Linked DNA regions of Homo sapiens: region 1 is linked to region 2. Evidence: promoter capture Hi-C in 16 types of primary human blood cells and fetal thymus (Javierre and others, 2016). All regions are on one chromosome and are shown on one strand. Each heading gives the region's core, a stretch centred on a gene start or on the middle of the fragment in contact. The rest is flanking DNA. Distances are from core to core; before and after follow the strand shown. Region 1 holds the start of PDIA6 (protein disulfide isomerase family A member 6). Region 2 holds the start of SMC6 (structural maintenance of chromosomes 6).

Region 1 (3,532 bases), core at 858-3,357, 6.9 Mb before region 2:
CAGGGTTACAAGGAAACCTAACATACTACTGAGAAAGAACAGACAAAAGATGTGGACATTCTGAATGCATAAAAGTAGCCAACAACTACCTCCAACCCCCAAGAACACAAAAAACCCTGGGCTCACTTAAGATGACAAAGTAGGTCAATGCTGACCAATGACGTTCTGTTTCTAAAATTCACATCACCATTCCACTCAGTGATAATGAACACCAATGGGAAATTGGACCATCCGAGTGAGTGTCTAGAATCTCTGTGAGCAGATGGCTCTGCCATCTGTGGTTTTCCATTCCTCCATGGCAGTTAAGGATGCTATAAATTCACATCAGTAACATCTCTGTCCCACATCTGCTAGGAGGAGTCTACAGTCCCAGAGCAGTCATCTAGAAACCATGAGGTTTCCCAGAAAGGCTGCCATTTATTAAAATGAGTTAATTAATAGACTCACGGACTCTTTCAGGGTCTAGTCTGAATTCACTCACAGGAAACTAAACAGACTAAACTCTTTTCCCCTCATCTACTCTCTCCACAGTAATATGGCAAATATTTACATCTCTTTAAAACATGTACTAGCTGGGCCAGGTGACTGACACTTGTAATCCCAGGATTTTGGGAGGTTGAGGAAGGAGGATCACTCGAGGCCAGGAGTTTGAGACCAACCTGAGCAATACAATGAGACCCTGACTCTACAAAAAATTTAAAAATTAGCCAGGTGTGGTGGCATGTGCCTGGATCCCTTGAGACCAGGAGTTCCAGGCTGCAGTGAACTATGATGGAAACCCTGCACTCCAGCCTAGGAGACAGAGCAAGACCGTGTCTCAAAAAACAGAAAGACATGTACTAACTCATTAATCCTCAGGACAACCCTAAGGGAGTACTATTATCAGTCCCTAAAATGGTGAACACCGTTGAAAAGGCACTGGCACAGAGTGGTTAAGTAACTTGCTCCAAGTCACAGAGCCAGTAAATAGGGGGAAGGTGGTCTGAGGCCAGAGCCGAGGTTAAGGACTGTCAGAGCCAAGGCTGTGACCAAGGCGAGCCCGGCAAGGACAGGACCCTCGGCCTCGCCCACTAAGAAGCAGACATTTACAGAATTCCTAAGACGCCGCGTTCCATTTCGTTTTTAAGGAGTCCGATCACATGCGAAGCGCCCCTGCGTCTTAAGCCCAGCTTTTGGAAGGCACTGTCCCTTTCTAAGGGAACTATGGGTCCTTATTTCAGGACTGAGATTTAACATTTCAGTTTTTCGTTTCTGAGACAGAGTTTCACTCTTGTTGCCCAGGCTGGAGTGGCGCGATCTCGGCTCACTGCAACCTCCGCCTCCTGGGGGTTCAGGAGATTCTCCTGCCTCAGCCTTCTGAGTAGCTGGGATCACTGGCGCGCGACACCACGCCCGACTAATTTTGTATTTTTAGTAGAGACGGGGTTTCGCCATGTTGGTCAGGCTGGTCTCGAACTCCTGACCTCAGATGATCCACCCGCTTCGGCCTTCCAAAGTGCTGGGATTACAGGTGTGAGCCACCGCGCCCGGCTTAACATTTCAGTTTTTAAAAGTAGGAGCTGCATAAAGCAGGTGGCAGAAACAAGCAGCAGTGCAGGACGCCCGCCAACCTCCGTCCCCACGCACGAGTTCGAGAAGAGCCCGGAACAAGCTCCCCTGCGACTCTCCGGGAATACAGACCCCCTCCCCGGGATCCGGCCGGGGCTGGGCTCCGCGGCTCTCCCGCCCGGCCCTGGACCCCGCGCCCGGCTCCAGCGCACGAGGCTCCCGCCCCCCGCGGCTGCGGAAGCCCCTCCCCACGGGCGCCCGAGTCTCCCGCGCACCCGCACCTCCGCCGGGGCAACCTAGCAGCTCCTCCGGACGCCGAGGCCCGCGCCTCCCGCCCGCCAGGCCCACTTCCGGCCGCCTGCGGCCGCGGCCCGCCGGGGAACGGCCTAGAGATTCGAAACCTTTCAGGCCGACCCCAGCTCGCCCGCCTCCCTCCGCTGGCCCGCACCTACCGAGCACCAGGAGAGCCATGCCGAGCGCCGGGCTACGTGCAGTCCCCACCGCCGCCGCCGCTTCAGCCCTGCAGCGTGCCGCACGCCGCGCCCCCGCGCCCACGTCCCGCCCCAGGCCAGTCCGGTGGTCCGAGGGGCGGCCGCGCGGGGGCGGGCCGGAAGGCGCTCGCCAAGCCGTGGCTGCGGCTCATTGGTCCGGGCGGACATCGCTCACTCACATATCCAATGGGAGGCGGCCGGGTAGAGGTTACCGGTTTGGTTTTTTTTCACGGGGGCGGTGGCGAGCAGCGGAAGGCGGGGCCTGCTGGGGGCGGGGCTGGCAGTCTCGGCTCGCACCGCCTCAGCTCCTCCGGGCCCTCTCGGGGTGCTGCTCGGAGGGGAGTCCAGTACTGGGCGTTTTTACCTTAGTTCCTTATTCTGCACCCCCCCACCCCGCCTCCTCCTTGCCTGTGTGCGCCCCCACCCTCTTTATCCCGGGGGAGCGTGACTCGGCCTCAGGGCACCCACGGTCCTGGGAGCTGACAGGGAATTCCTCTTGTGCCCGACGAATATTCCGTGGACACACATTTGCTCCGCACGCGCTGTCTGCAATGTAATTCGACAAGTTTCTATTTTGTTGAATTACTTTTGAAAGTTCTTCCGTCCAGGGCGCATGGCTCTGCAGAGCCTTCTCCTCCTTCTCTGGAGAACCCCAGGGACTTAAGCGGTAGCCTCCTCGCTGACAGGGTCTCCACTTTGTCCTGGGGGGCGAGGGGGCTGGCAATGCGCTCACGTGGGTGTGTGCTTTGTAAAATATGCAAAAGTGAAAAAAAATATGTTTGTGGGGCAGGCTGGCGAGCAGTGGCATGATACAGTTCACTGCAGCCTTGAACTCCTGGGCTGCAGTGAGCCTCCTGCCTCGGCCTCCCAAAGTGCTGGGATCACAGGCATGGGCCACCACGCCCGGCAAAAGTAAAAATTTTTTTGCTTTTTTTTGAGATGGAGTTTTGCCCTTGTTGCCCAGGCTGGAGTGCAAAGGCGGGGTCTTGGCTCACTGCAACCTCTGCCTCCCGGGTTCAAGCGATTCTCTTGCCTCAGCTTCCCGAGAAGCTGGGATGACAGGTGCATGTCACCACGCCCGGCTAATTTTTGTATTTTTAGCAGAGACAGGGTTTCTCTTGCCTCAGCTTCCCGAGAAGCTGGGATGACAGGTGCATGTCACCACGCCCGGCTAATTTTTGTATTTTTAGCAGAGACAGGGTTTCTCCATATTGGCCAGGCTGGTCTCGAACTCCCGACCTCAGGTGATCCGCCTGCTTCGGCCTCCCAAAATGCTAGGATTACAGTTGTGAGCCACCACGCCCGACCTAAAAGTAAAATCTTTCAAGCACAAGTTAAGACCACTGTATCTTTCCGCCTTGATTCTCCCTCCTATGTTTGGAGTGGACTCGGACATTTTGTTTTTGTATTAGTAATTTCTCCATATTGTAGTGTGTAAGGCATAAGTATTCTTAGGCAGGGGTCCAGGAGTGGTGGGGGCCGGCTGGTGGGCT
Region 2 (3,438 bases), core at 203-2,702:
CAAAAAAAAGTCTGTGCAACCATCCACTTTTTTTCCTCTGAAATATTTTCAGTCCCTTGATTGAGTCCACGGATACAGAGGATGCACTGATAACTGTATTATTTCTTCCAACTTGCATAAGAAGAACTGAAACTTAAAGAGGTGGTACCAACCTGCTCAGAGTCACACAATTCTGGCTTTTTGTGATATAAATACACGCTTTTAGGCAATATACTAGTGGCCTCCAAACGTTTTGTACTTGCACCCATTAAGCAAAAGAAATTTGAAATACATGTTCCAACATAAAATTAATACCCTATGTTTCACGTAGAAATCAAATGAAATAAATCTAAATAGAAGTTCTAATATGTTCCCTCTCTACCCACACACCCATGGAACAAACTGCATGCCACTGTATATACTATTGTACATGTTAAAAGATCACACTGCAACCATATAAAAGTCAGGAGATTTGGGTTTTTCTTTTTTCCTTTGAATATATATTACTGAGAAGTTTGCCTTTAAAACACTGGCTTTTAATCTACTACTCGTGACATATGCAGAGTAATAAGCGCTCACAAAACTTCTGTCTTGAGGGCTCAAACACCAAATGATTGCTCTAAGAATTTTCACAGTATTACCTCAAACCCTATTGGTTCTACAACCTTTCTCTACCCTAGAGTCCTGTTTTCCGCAATTCCCAATTGGGATTCTTCTCCGGTTCATTTCTGTAAGAAATGAGGGCAGAGAAATGCCATCAGTAAACCTTTGAACACATGTTAATTTTTCTAGGTAATACAATTTGCATTTTCGTAAAACTGGGCTTTAATGACAAATCCGATTTCAGTGATCTTTGCATACACCCTTTAAACACACCAGTTGCCGCCTGCGAGATATCATCAGACTCATGCTAAGAGCCACTCCCTACCCCAGCTTTCCCCAGACCTCTCCCCGCTTTACAGTTATTCGCCACAGCCCGGGAGAGTCTGGGGACGGCCGCCTGGGAGGGGACGGCCGCCTGGGAGGGGACGGCCCGGAGCAGACGCCAGGTTTCCCGCGGCTCAGGAGACCGGTGCCGCCTCGGAGAGCGCGCGAAGGTGCCGCCGGCCGCCCGACCCGCCCGAGGAACGGACATCTCCCGCCCGGGCCCGCAAGGACGACCATGAACACCGCCGCAGCTCAGCTGACCCTGCCTCTCCCGGGTGGCTGGGGGTCGCCAGCCAAGGGGGCAGCGGGCGGAGGATGAACCCCGGAGCAAGGGAAAGCGACAGCGCGCGCCTTCACCCTACCGCCAACAAGTCGAAGTCTCCCAAAGGAACCTGATCGGCGGGGCTGCCGTGGTACGACCGGCCGCTAAGGCCACCCTGCGGGCGTCTCGACCTCGGCTGACCGCCGCTGGCCCCCTGGGAACCGCGTGCCGGCCGCAGGAGAAGGTAGATTCCCGGGAGCCCCGGCGCCCACCGCGGTACTAACCGCGCCTGCGCCCCGCCCTCCCTCCCTTCGGGCTCCGCCCGCGCCTGCGCAGTTGCGGGGTTTCGCGCCGCCGGAGTCTGAGAGGCCGGAAGTGCCCCTTAGCGGGTGGGGGAAGCTGGTAGGCACGGGCGGCTCCGCAGTGACCGGACTCGGGGGAGGTGAGTGATTTGCCTAAGTAAAAGGGAAAGATAATTGAGCGCCCCCGGCAGCTGGTCTACGCATGCGTCCGCTAGGCCGGCTGGGAGCCGGCAAGGGAAAGCCGAGCGGGCCCCATTGGGGGAAAGGGGTCAGTCACTTCCCGGAAGAGGCGGGGCCGCGCGGGCCCGGCGCTGGATTCGAAACGCTTCCTGGTGCTCCTGGGCCTGGCGGTTGAGCCCGGGGAGCTAGTCTTTGCTTGGGTAAAGAAAGAGGACTTTCCTTTTTTTTTTTCCTTTTGAGAAAATTCAGAAATTTGGAGGCACAGTAGTTAGGATTCAGGCCAAACTGGTAAATGACGAAGGGGCTTCTTCCAGAGCCAAGGAGGAAGGGTTGTCCGGGTAAGTCCCGCGGGACGTGGAGAGACGGCGCCGCCCGGGTCCTCCCACTGATTCCTTTGACCATCTGGCTTACGGACGAGCTCTTTGTTCGCTGCTCCTCCGAAAACGCCTTCAATGACTCCCTTTGAATAAAGTAGGAAGTCCGAACCGAGCCGCCAGGCCGCGACTTGGCCCCTGTTTTCCACTCGCGAGGGCCCTGCGTCACCCCGCCTCGGGAAAGCTGCGCGTTCTCCGGCCGCTTGCGCTTGGCCGAAGCTGCTGGGTCCCGCTGTGCTTCCCCCGGGCATGCGATGGGGATAATTCCCACGCCTCGCTCAAAGCCATCCCGGGAGAGCCCTCCCTGGTCCCCATAGGCACAGTTGGGTGTTCCCTTTTCCGTGTTAACCTTGTATTTCGGATATAGTTCTGTTATAGTAATTACTTTAAGGTATTGTAGTTATTTACAATCAGTCTTTCCCCCACGGTAACCTAGAGTGTAAACCCCCTAAATAAACGTCAGAAGTAATGAAGTCTTAACTTCCTTGGCTTAGGTTTCAGCGCCCTTCTCAACCCCACACTCCCGCTTCAGTCTTTACACAACCCTTCCCATGAATATGCTGACCTAACAAGTAACCTACTTTTCATACTCCAAAATCTTCTCTTCTGTGTGGGGAAAATAATGCATTGACTGCCACCTCACTCCACCTCCAAATAAATTGATGTTGAAATTCTGGCCTCCGGTAATGGAATTCTTTACATCAAAGTCACTTTTTATTTCTAAAAGTAATCACATATATATTATATTCCTACTGTGGCCCTTGCCATGGATCAACGAAAAATATGACATAGTCAAAATAGACCAAAACATCTGGCCTTGTTGTAACCAATGGGAAACACGGTTGGGAGGTCCCTACTTACATGTCACTTGCTTCAGGAACCGTTCCTTGATTCCTAAGTGGGGGACCTTTTTTCCTAAATACAACTATAGCTTGCTTTCTTACCTCTTAAGCCCTTTTTATCTGCAGTCTCACTTACCCTACTAAGGTCTTTAAATGCAGGGCTTGATCTTCCATTATTGTATCTCCAGCACCTATAAAGCTTTCCTGTTAAATAGTAGACATTTAATAAGTATTTATTGATAAACGTGAAGTATGCCTCAACGTTTAGGCTAAATTCATATGAAAATAAAATTGAAAAAATAATTTTAAAGAACAGCATTAGTTACTGAGATTATGTGGTAAATCCCTTAAAATATAATCTTGCATTGAAATAGTTTTCACCATTTACCAGTCTTTATATGAATATATACTCATCTAAATGGAAATTGGGAAATTTAAGCATTTTCTGCTTTTCCGAAGTAAATTTTCTAATGTTTTTCTTAAAGCTGAACTAAATTGCAAAACTTGCTTTAATAAAGTGTGTATTTTTGCATCAGTTAAGCCCCTGACCTCTTTATGTTCTTTAAATTTGA

The links. Contacts are between HindIII fragments. The CHiCAGO score rates a contact against its expected background, and 5 or more counts as called.
Region 1: the fragment with the promoter of PDIA6 here is called in contact with the fragment with the promoter of SMC6 in region 2 in 1 of 17 cell types (neutrophils); the score reaches 5.2 in neutrophils.

Annotation. Positions count from the first base shown.
Region 1 is chr2:10,810,678-10,814,209 of GRCh38, forward strand. PDIA6 (protein disulfide isomerase family A member 6) reads right to left here and starts at 2,108. Exons shown (of 13, transcript NM_005742.4): 1 at 2,001-2,108. The coding sequence starts at 2,019. RefSeq lists enhancers at 15-124, 1,111-1,170 and a silencer at 1,661-2,410. The HindIII fragment of the contact is 7,767 bases long and covers 1-3,532 here.
Region 2 is chr2:17,752,358-17,755,795 of GRCh38, forward strand. It overlaps SMC6 (structural maintenance of chromosomes 6), which reads right to left and starts at 1,453. Exons shown (of 28, transcript NM_001142286.2): 1 at 1,269-1,453; 2 at 621-707. It overlaps GEN1 (GEN1 Holliday junction 5' flap endonuclease), which reads left to right and starts at 1,781. Exons shown (of 14, transcript NM_001130009.3): 1 at 1,781-1,988. RefSeq lists silencers at 929-1,288, 1,429-1,568. The HindIII fragment of the contact is 9,742 bases long and covers 1-3,063 here.